Regions from separate parts of the Homo sapiens genome. Here region 1 is linked to region 2. Evidence: promoter capture Hi-C in human tissues and cell types (Jung and others, 2019). All regions are on one chromosome and are shown on one strand. Each heading gives the region's core, a stretch centred on a gene start or on the middle of the fragment in contact. The rest is flanking DNA. Distances are from core to core; before and after follow the strand shown.

Region 1 (4,869 bases), core at 1,951-4,450, 700 kb before region 2:
GGGGACTTGCTATGTTACCCAGGCTGGTCTTGAACTCCTGGCCTCAAGTGATCCTCCTGCCTCAGCCTCCCAAACGACTAGGATTATAGGCGTGAGCCACCGCGCCCAGCCAGGGCTGCAGAATTAACATTGAGTAGCCCAGTGCCTGAGTCTGGGTGGCTCACTCTCTTCGACCCCACATGGCTGTTTTCTAGGGGGCTTGGAGAGAGGTCGCTGACCAGGCTTGGTGGCGTCTGCAAAGTCTGTCCCCTGGGAGGTCTGGATCTGTTACCCATCGTAGGCAGCTCCTAAGAATAATCCTGGGCCTGGGTGACTTCTGGTCTTGGAGCCATTTGTACCTCAATGCCATACCTTGGACAGGGGGTCCTTCTCCTGCTCCACAGTTGGAAGAAGAGGCTAGGAGAGGAGGATGAAGCAGGGCTCTGTTGTGCTCCGGGGAGGGGGAGATTGTGGGGGCAGAATAAGGGACTCCTTGTACCTGACTGAGTCTGCCTCCCAGGAGGGAAATGATGTTGTTGGTTTGGCAAATGCTGCCTGAGCCCGGCCCCACTTTTGAAAATACAGGCAGCGGAACGCATGCCCAGATCCCAACATCGGGGGCTCCGCGTTAACGGGGCCAAGGAGGGGAGAGTCTATAGCTATGAAACATATCATTTCCAGGACTGTAAAGAGGGTATGGAGTGTAAGGCATCTGCCTTGAGTGTCCCCCAAAACCCTCAGTCATTGAGATAGGTAATATTTTAGCACAGTATTTCAGAAAATCTAAATCAATGTGCAAAAAGAAAAAAAAAATTCCATGATGAGCAAAAATAGCAAGATTTTAAAGAGACTCGAGCCTGCTGGGCCAGGCCTTGCCTCACGGGCTTCCCCTGATCTGACCCTGGGAGTTTCCTGGTTGTGATGACGTAGCTCCTCCTACTGCCGTCTCTACTTTTTTTTTTTTTTTTTTAATTTTTAGAGCTGGGGTCTTGCTCTGTTGCCCAGGCTAGAATGCAATGGTACAATCACAACTCACTGTAGCCTTGACTCTCTGGGCTCAAGTGATCCTCCTGCCTCAGCCTCCTGAGTAGCTGGGACTATAGGTGCATGCCACTGTGCCCAGCTAGTTTTTTTTTTTTTTTTTTTTTTTTTTTGTAGAGATGGGGTCTCACTATGGTGCCCAGGCTGGTCTTTAACTCCTGGTCTCAAATGATCCTCCACCTCGGCCTCCCAAAGTGTTGGAATTACAGGTGGGAGCCACCGCACCTGGCACAAATGCTCTTATCTGAACATTCTCTACCTGGACCCCAGCCTCAGAGGGATGTGTCTGTCTCCCTGACCTGGACAGGGACTAGGTTTGAGGCAGGGGATGTGCCTCATTCATTTGAGTCTCTGGCCAGCCCCTTGGAGATGTCATTGGCAAGGGATGGGTCTGATAGAGCTGCTGATAAGACAATATGTCCATATCTTAACCCCATACCACCAACTTTTGAATGTGACCTTATTTGGAAAATAGGGTCTTTGGAGATGTAATTAGTTAAGATGAGGTCATTAGCGTGGGACCTAGTTCCATATGGATGGTGTCCTTCTAAAAACAGAAGACAGGGTCAGGTGTAATGGCTCACACCTATGGTCCCAGCACTTTGGGAGGTCAAGGTGAGAGGACTGCTTGAGCCCAGGAGTTCAAGACTAGCCTGGGCAATACAGGGAGATTCCATCTCTACAAAAAAAAATTTTTAAGCAGCCTGGCCAACATGGTGAAAAAACCCCATCTCTACTAAAAATACAAAAATTAGCTGGGCATGGTGGCAAGGCACCTGTGATCCCAGCTACTCGGGAGGCTGAGACACGAGAATCGCTTGATCCTGGGAGGTGGGGGTTACAGTGAGCTGAGATGACGCCAATTAACTTGAGCCAAGATGGCGCCACTACCCTCCAGCCTGGGCAACAGAGCAAGAAGAGCCTGTCTCAAAAAAAAAAAAAAAAAAAAAAAAAAAAAGGAGGAGACAGGATTGAGATGAATGATGCAGACACAGAGGGAAGAAGTCCATGTGAAGAGGAAGAGGGAGGCAGGGACTGGAGTGATGTGGCCAAAAGCCAAGGAAAGCTTGGACCCCTAGAAGCTGGAGGAGGCAAGAAAGGGTCCTCCCTTGGAGCCTCTGGAGGCAGCACAGCTCTGCTGACAGTTTGACTTTAGACTTCCAGCTTCCAGAACCATAAGAGAATAGATTACTGTGGTTTTAAGAACTCCACCTCCCGGGTTCAAACAATTCTCCTGCCTCAGCCTCCCAAGTAGCTGGAATTATAGGCACCCGCCACCATGCCTGGCTAATTTTTGCATTTTTAGTAGAGATGGGGTTTTGCCATGTTGGCCAGGCTGGTTAAAAATTTTTTTGTAGAGATGGAATCTTTTTTTTTTTTTTTTTTTTTGAGACAGAGTCTTGGTCTGTCACCCAGGCTGGAGTGCAATGGAGTGATCTCCGCTCACTGCAACCTCCGCCTCCCAGGTTCAAGCAATTTTCCTGCCTCAGCCTCCTGAGTAGCTGGGATTACAGGCGCCTGTCACCATGCCCGGCTAATTTTTGTATTTTCAGTAGAGACGGGGCTTCACCATGTTGGCCAGGCTGGTCTCCAACTCCTGACCTCAGGTGATCCGCCTGCCTCGGCCTCCCAAAGTGCTGGGATTACAGGCGTGAGCCACTGTGCCTGGCCGAGGTGGAATCTTTCTGTGTTGCCCAGGCTGGTCTTGATCTCCTGGGCTCAAGAGCCCACCTGGCTTGTAGCGGTTCCTTAGAGGAGCCACAGGAAAGTAGTTCGGTATGTGTCACGTGATTTCAGTGACTACAACTGGGTGACCCAGAATGAGGTGCCTTATTGACCTGTCTGCCTTCACAGCGCCCTGTGGACTGTGGGGATGAGGGAGGAAGGCTCAGAAGTGAGACCAGAGCCCAGCAGCATCTGGGTCCCAATTCCACACACTGCACTGCCCTTTGTAACAACTCGCCAATCCTGTCTCTTGCTCCATTGCCCAGGCTGGAGTGCAGTGACACGATCACAGCTCCCTGCAGCCTCAACCTCCCAGGCTCAAGTGATCCTCCTGTCTCAGCCTCCTGAGTAGCTGGGGCCACAGGTATGCCCCACCACGTCTGGCCCCAGTGTCTAGTTTCTAGGCATAGGCCCATAATCCTTTGCTGAAAACTCCTGGCGGATGTGCCTCAAGTGCACGAATTAATCACACGTGTTGATGTTTTCACAATGAGGTGTTTGTGCATTTTGCACACACGAGCTTGGGTTTTGTGGTCAAGTGAAATGAACAGACACAAGTTCTCAGCACAAGGTCTGGCGTGGTGGCACACGCCTGTAATCCCAGTACTCTCGGAGGCCAAGGCGGGAGGATCCCTTGAGCTAAGGAGTTCAAGACCAGCCTGGAAAACATGACGAAACCCTGTTGCTACAAAGAAATACAAAAATTAGCCGGGTATGGTGGTGTGACCCTGTAGTCCCAGCTACTCCAGAGGCTCACGTCAGGGGATCACTTGAGCCCAGGAGGTCAAGGCTGCAGTGAGCTTTGATTGCACCACTACACTCCAGCCTGGGTGACAGAGTGAGACCCTGTCTCAAAAATAAAAAGGCGCTCTTGGGAAAGTCTGGATTTGGGGTAAGGCTCTGGGGGCTGCAGAACCTGACCCAGTGCCCATGCGTAGATGTGCCGGGATGGACGGGGTGTGGACACTCACTTGCTCTCCTCGTCCAGCAGGTAGAAGAGGCCCGTGGGTTTCTTGCTGATGAGATGGATGCAGCCGACATTGTCTGTGTAGCCGATGTTGTGCCACGTGATCCCCTCGCCCTGATATTCCTCCTGCAGGGGTGGCGCGGGGTCGGTAAGTTTCTTATCTCCCAGATATGTAATATCTACATAACATATATTGCATACAGGTCGAGTATCCCTAATCCGAAAATCTGAAATGCTTCAAAATAGGAAACTTTTTAAACTGATGCGTGGCTTAAAATTAACTCTAATAGGGCTGGGCACAGTGGCTCACGCCTGTAATCCCAGCACTTTGGGAGGCCAAGGCAGGTGGATCACCTGAGGTCAGGAGTTTGAGACCAGCCTGACCAACATAGCAAAATCCCATCTCTACTAAAGATACAAAATTAGCCAGGCGTGGTTGCACAAGCCTGTAATCCCAGCTACTCAGGAGGCTGAGGCAGGAAAATCGCTTGAACACGGGAAGTGGAGGTTGCAGTGAGCCAAGATTGCGCCATTAGTCCTACTCCAGCCTGGGCAACAAGAGCGAAACTCCGTCACAAAAAAAAAAAAAAAAAAATAGCTCTAATAATACACTTAATTTAACATGATATATCCAAAATGTGATCATGTTAACATGTAACTGACATAAAAAGTAACTGAGAGGCCAAGGTGGTAGGATCGCTTGAGGCCAGGAGTTCAAGACCAGCCTGGACAACATAGCAAGATCCTGTCTGTGCAAAAAATAAAAAGTAAAAAATACTTTACTGAGGCTGGAGGATGGCTTGAGTCCAGGAGTTTGAGACCAGCCCGGGCAATATAGCAAGACTCCATCTCAAAAAAAAAAAAAAAAATCCAAAACTTTTGGACTGCCAATGTTATGTGATGCTCAAAGACAACGCTCATTGAAGCATTTCAGATTTTGGATTTTCAGATTTGGGATGTTCAACCAGTAAGTATAATATAAATATTGAAAAATCTGAAAAAAATCCCAAACCTGAGACACTTCTGCTCCCAAGCAGTTTGGATAAGGGATCCCCACACTGTAGGAACATATTTATGTATCAATAGGCATGTTTACATATAAATGTATCTGCATGTGTGTGTTCTTTGCAGCACTATTCACAATAACAAATAAGTAA
Region 2 (5,063 bases), core at 87-2,586:
AATCTACCTGTCTCAACTGGATTGCTGGGATTACAAGTGTGAGCCACAGAGCCTGGCTCAATCCCCTGTATTCAATATCCTCTGTTTGAAGTACCTAGAAGGACTTCTCTTTTCCTTATGGAATACGTACTGATAAAGCACTCAAGACTGTTAAAAACCTTCATTACTCTATTGATGTAACAAAAGAAGCTGAGGCAAAGTTAATATAAGTAGAGAGTTTGGGCCAAGGTTGAGGACCGCAGTCCAGGAGACACAGATTCAAGTTGCCCTGAATGTATGCTTTGATTAGCAACAGTTACAAGTGGGTTCTTTTTGTTTTTGACTTTGTTTTGAGACAGAGTCTCACTCTGTCACCCAGGCTGGAGTGCAGTGGTGCAATCTTGGCTCACCGCAACCTCCACCTCCCGGGTTCAAGTGATTCTCTGGCCTCAGCCTCCTGAGTAGCTGGGACTACAGGCATGCACCACCACACCTGCTAATTTTTGTATTTTTTTTAGTAGAGATGGGGTTTCACCATATTGATGTTTCACCATACTGGCCAGGCTGGTCTCCAACTCCTGACCTCATGACCCTCCCACCTCGGCCTCCCAAAGTGCTGGGATTACAGGTGTAAGCCACTGTACCTGGCAACAAGTGGGTTCTTGTCTTATTTATTTATTTATTTTTGAGACAGAGTTTCGCTTCTGTTGCCCAGGCTGGATTGCAATGGTGTGATCTTGGCTCACTGAAACCTCTGCTTCCTGGGCTCAAGCAATTCTCCTGCCTCAGTCTCCTGAGTAGCTTGGATTTCAGGTGCCCGCCACCACAGCCAGGAGGACGCCTTGCGGGGCAGGGTGAGGGGGGCAGGGTGCGGGTCCCCCAAATTAGCGCGCACACACACACACACACACACACACACACACTGCGATCCTAGGAACAGGGCGCTTTGCGGGGCAGGGTGAGGGTCCCGACCCTCCGCGGGGTGGGCGACCGCCTCCCCAGGCGCACTGGCAGGGGGACGGCATCCCTAACAGAGAACCAGGCCTCGGCATGGGCTGGAGGGATGACACAGCATGGTCGACTCGGACAGCGGCCAGCGGCATGAGAGTCCGAACAACGTTGGAAGGAGGAGTAGGGGAACGGGCAAGAGAGCACGGAAGACGCAGATGCCTCAGGCCCAGCCCCTCCAGGCTGCGTGTGGGCGGCCCCGCCCCTGCCCCCGCCCCTCCCGGCCTGACTGCACATGCGTGGCCCTGTCTACGGCCCCGCCCTCTCCCGGGACAGGCGGCCTGCGCACCGCCCTCCCGTCGTCCCAGTGCGCACGCGTGGCTGCAGCCCCGCCCCCGTTCCCCCGGCGCTCGGAGCCCGAGTCCGCGGGAAGATGGCGGCGCCGCTCATCCCCCTCTCCCAGCAGGTACGGGCCGGGCGGGCCTGGGGGCGGCGCCGGGGTGCGGGGCGCGAGGCGAGCGGTGCGGCGAGGCTGAGGCGCTGGGAGACTCAGCCAGGCGGCGGCGGGGGCGGCGCGTGCTGAAGGGCTTGCGGCGGGCGGGTGGGCAGGCGGCCCTGAAGGTGACAGGCCGGGACCCGCGGCCTCCCGTGCCCGAGCGACCCTCGCGGGCACCGGCGAGGCGAGGAGGTGCGCAGCGCGTGTCCTCTCCGCCCAGGGCCCGGACCCTGCCGCCGCTGAAGCTCCCAGGCCGGGGACCCGCGGAGGCGCTGGGCTGCATCCCGGAGGGGTGGGCGAGGGGTGCGAGCGTTTCTGTCGGCGCGGCGGCCCAGCGAGTCTTTGTCTCCCTCCGGTCCCGGCGCCCGGGCGGGCAGGGTCCCGCCGGAGCCCGGACCCGTCAGCAGCAGTGCGATCTCAGACTGATCCCCTGCCTCCTTGGAAGCTGCTTCCGCCACCCCTGCACCGGGCGCAGATCGTACGTCTCCGGGCGCCTCTCTGTGTCCTCAAATTCGCCTGATGCGCTTATGAAGGGGCAGTATCGATAGCGCGACACAGACATGCGAAAAAGAGCCATGCGTAGGCAGCTCTGTTATTTGGGAGAGACTTTCATTCATTCATTTTCTATCCATCCCTCAAATGTGCGTTGGGTCAGGTGCTGGGAGCGCTGCATTCTTCCAGACAGACAAGGTCGCTGCTTTCCTGGAGGTGACACTCGTGGGAACTAGAAACTACCTGTGTTATGCTAATCACAGCTGCCTTTATTTGCTGAATACCTGTGTTGTGCAAAGCACCATATAAGCATTTTGCTAGAATGATCTAGCACAGCATGGTGATTAAGAGTGAGGACACAGGGTCAGATCATGTGTTCAAATCTTGGCTCCAGCCCCGATTTCTCTGTGCCTTTGGTTGAAGCTCTTAGCCATTCCACCCATCAGTTGCTTCCTTTGGAAAATGGAGATATAAAAATGTGTTGGGATTATGTGAAAATTAAGCACGTGAAAAAGCGCTTAGAACAGTGCCTAGCATATGAGAGGCACTCAGTGATCCTATAATTACTGTCATCATTTAATCTCTGCCAGATTTGGACGTTTGGGAGTAGAGACCGCAGCAATTAAGAATTCCAAACCCAAAGAGAGTTGATAGGCCGGTTGCATGCTTGCATGACTGGTTAGCTGATCCAAGGAGAGAGAAGTGCACAGCTAGCCAATTTGCAACACTGTCACTAAGTTAACAGTGCTAAAACCCGGTGATTATTAATTAGCAAGTTCTTGTTACTGACATGAAAGTGCTCTGTAAACTGTTAAGTGTCCTACCGATAATAGGTGTTAATAGCTAAGTGCTACAGTTTAGAGTATGTAGTCAGGGGGTGGGGGGCGGGGAAGGCGGGAGTCGGGGGAAAATCACCTAAGATCATTTCATGAGAAAGCACTAAGCACTCCCAGTTTGGGAGGCGTGGATCTTTCTAAAACTTCCTGTCCAATTTTTTTTTTTTTGAGATGGAGTATTGCTCTGTCACCCAGGGTGGAGTGCAGTGGCATGATCTCAGCTCACTGTAACCTCCGCCTCCCGAGTTCAAGTGATTCTCCTGCCTCAGCCTCCTGAGTAGCTGGGACTACAGGCACGTGCTACCACACCCGGCTAATTTTTGTATTTTTTTTTTAGTGGAGACGGGGTTTCACCATTTTGGCGAGGCTCGTGTCAAACTCCTGAACTCGAGTGATCCACCCGCCTTGGCCTCCCAAAGTGCTGGGATTACAGGCGTTAGCCACTGCGCCTGGCCAGGTCACTGACTTCTTAGCCTCTTCCTGTTCCTTTCCCTATACATTTGTTGAATGAAGGCGTGGCCTGGTTTTCTTCGTTTGGAAATGTCAGCACTTCTTTACACTTGCTCTCGAGTGAAAATCTACACCATGGGTTACTGTTGGCCCAGGTGTGAGGCATGGCCCTCCCAGGCCCTTACTGTCTAGCTCAGGAGATCACTTGGGTTCACAGATAACTCTGGGGGAACCAAGGGTATAATTCCAAAATTTTTGGTTGGGGGCAAAAGGGAAGCACCCTGCAGCAGGTGGCTGTGATCTGGTTGGATTTAGGTGACAGAGCACACTTGGCAAGCAGATGGCCAGGTGAAGGTGAGCAAAGTGGATAACCCAGCGGGCTAGCCTAGGGGAGGAGGGGTGTGTTTTCTCCACCCCCACTCCTGTCTGCACTTTTCCCATCAGCATCTTTTTCAGTCTGTTCTGTACTCCATGACATCATCTCAGAATCTCCTTCCTTATATACTCTTTTCTGACCCTGAATATCAACGTAAATTCGAAAGGTCTGCACCTCTGCCTCTTTAGGAGTGATTTTTTTTTCCCAACAGCATCTCAGTGATTTGTGTGTCTCCCTGTCCCCCTGCTCAGCTCTCTTCTGCTTTCCAAAAAGCCTTCCGTGGAAATGCATCCAGATCTCTTTCCTCCTTGTACTCCCCGAGGTTACCGGTGGCCCCTCCGTCCTTAACCCCGGTGCCCTGTGGCTGCAGCCGATCCTCCTCGAACTCCGCAACACTGGAGCCCGTCGGTCTTCACTCTTCATCCTCTCTCCTTTCAGTCTCTCCTTCTTGTCCCCTAATTTCAGCCTCCCTACCTGCATCTTATCTCTCTGTGCGCTCCCTCCCCTGGAGCTTCTGTGCAGAGGACTTCAAACCTGCCTTCTAGAGTCCAGAAGGTGTCTCTCTCCTGCACCTCTGCCAGCCTGCTGGACTCTGGAATGGGCCATTTCCTTGCCATGCCCCAAAGTGGTCTGGGCCATTCTACTTCCTACTTGCCCACTCCCTCCCACTTAATCCCACGCCACTGTGGAAGTCATCTTTTTGATTTTTGAGACAGGGTCTCGCTCTGTCCCCCAGGCTGGAGTGCAGTGGTAGGATCATAGCTCACTGCAACCTCAAACTCCTGGGCTCAAGCAATTCTCCCACCTTGGCCTCTCAAGTAGCTGGGACTACAGGAGCGCAGCACCAATCATACCCAGCTAATTAAACAATTTTTTTTTTGAAGAGATGAAGTCTTGCTATGCTGCCTAGGCAGGTCTTAAACCCCTAGCCTCAAGCAATCCTTCTATCTCAGCCTCCTAAAGTATTGGAATTACGGTGTCAGCCACTGCATCTGGCTAGGATTCATCTTCTAAAACATATTCCCCTGTTCCAAAAACCTTTCACAGCTCCCATTCCCCTTCCTCCAAAAGAACTCAGTTTATGGCTGGGCGCTGTGGCTCATGCCTATAATCCCAGCACTTTAGGAGGCTGAGGTGGATGGATTGCTTGAGGCCAGGAGCTCGAGACCAGCCTGGCCAACATAGCAAAACCCTGTCTGTACTAAAAATACAAAAGTTAGCCAGGCATAGTGGCAAACGCCTATAATCCCAGCAACTTGGGAGGCTGAGGCACAAGAATCGCTTGAAACCAGGCGGCGGAGGTTGCAGTGAGCTGAGATCGCGCCACTGCACCCCAGCCTGGGCAACAGGGTGAGACTCAGTCTCAAAAAAAGTCAGCTTTGATGACCTTAGTAAGCCCTGAATCGACTCCACCTAACCTTGCTGGGTCCCTTTCCTGCACTTCTGGCTCTTGGCAACACTTTCTAGCCTCAGCATCCTTAGCTGT

Evidence for each region. Contacts are between HindIII fragments. The study calls those that stand out against the background at their distance.
Region 1: a contact is called between a fragment that was not itself captured here and the fragment with the promoter of EPS15L1 in region 2, in 1 of the 25 tissues and cell types used here (aorta).

Annotation. Positions count from the first base shown.
Region 1 is chr19:17,166,912-17,171,780 of GRCh38, reverse strand. MYO9B (myosin IXB) reads right to left here. Exons shown (of 40, transcript NM_004145.4): 11 at 3,717-3,838. Among named protein-coding and RNA genes, the nearest start is that of USE1, 46 kb to the left of the region's middle. The HindIII fragment of the contact is 6,459 bases long and covers 1-4,869 here.
Region 2 is chr19:16,468,243-16,473,305 of GRCh38, reverse strand. It overlaps EPS15L1 (epidermal growth factor receptor pathway substrate 15 like 1), which reads left to right and starts at 1,336. Exons shown (of 24, transcript NM_001258374.3): 1 at 1,336-1,393. The coding sequence starts at 1,361. RefSeq lists silencers at 1,105-1,504, 1,565-1,784 and enhancers at 1,865-2,014, 1,247-2,158. The HindIII fragment of the contact is 15,921 bases long and covers 1-5,063 here.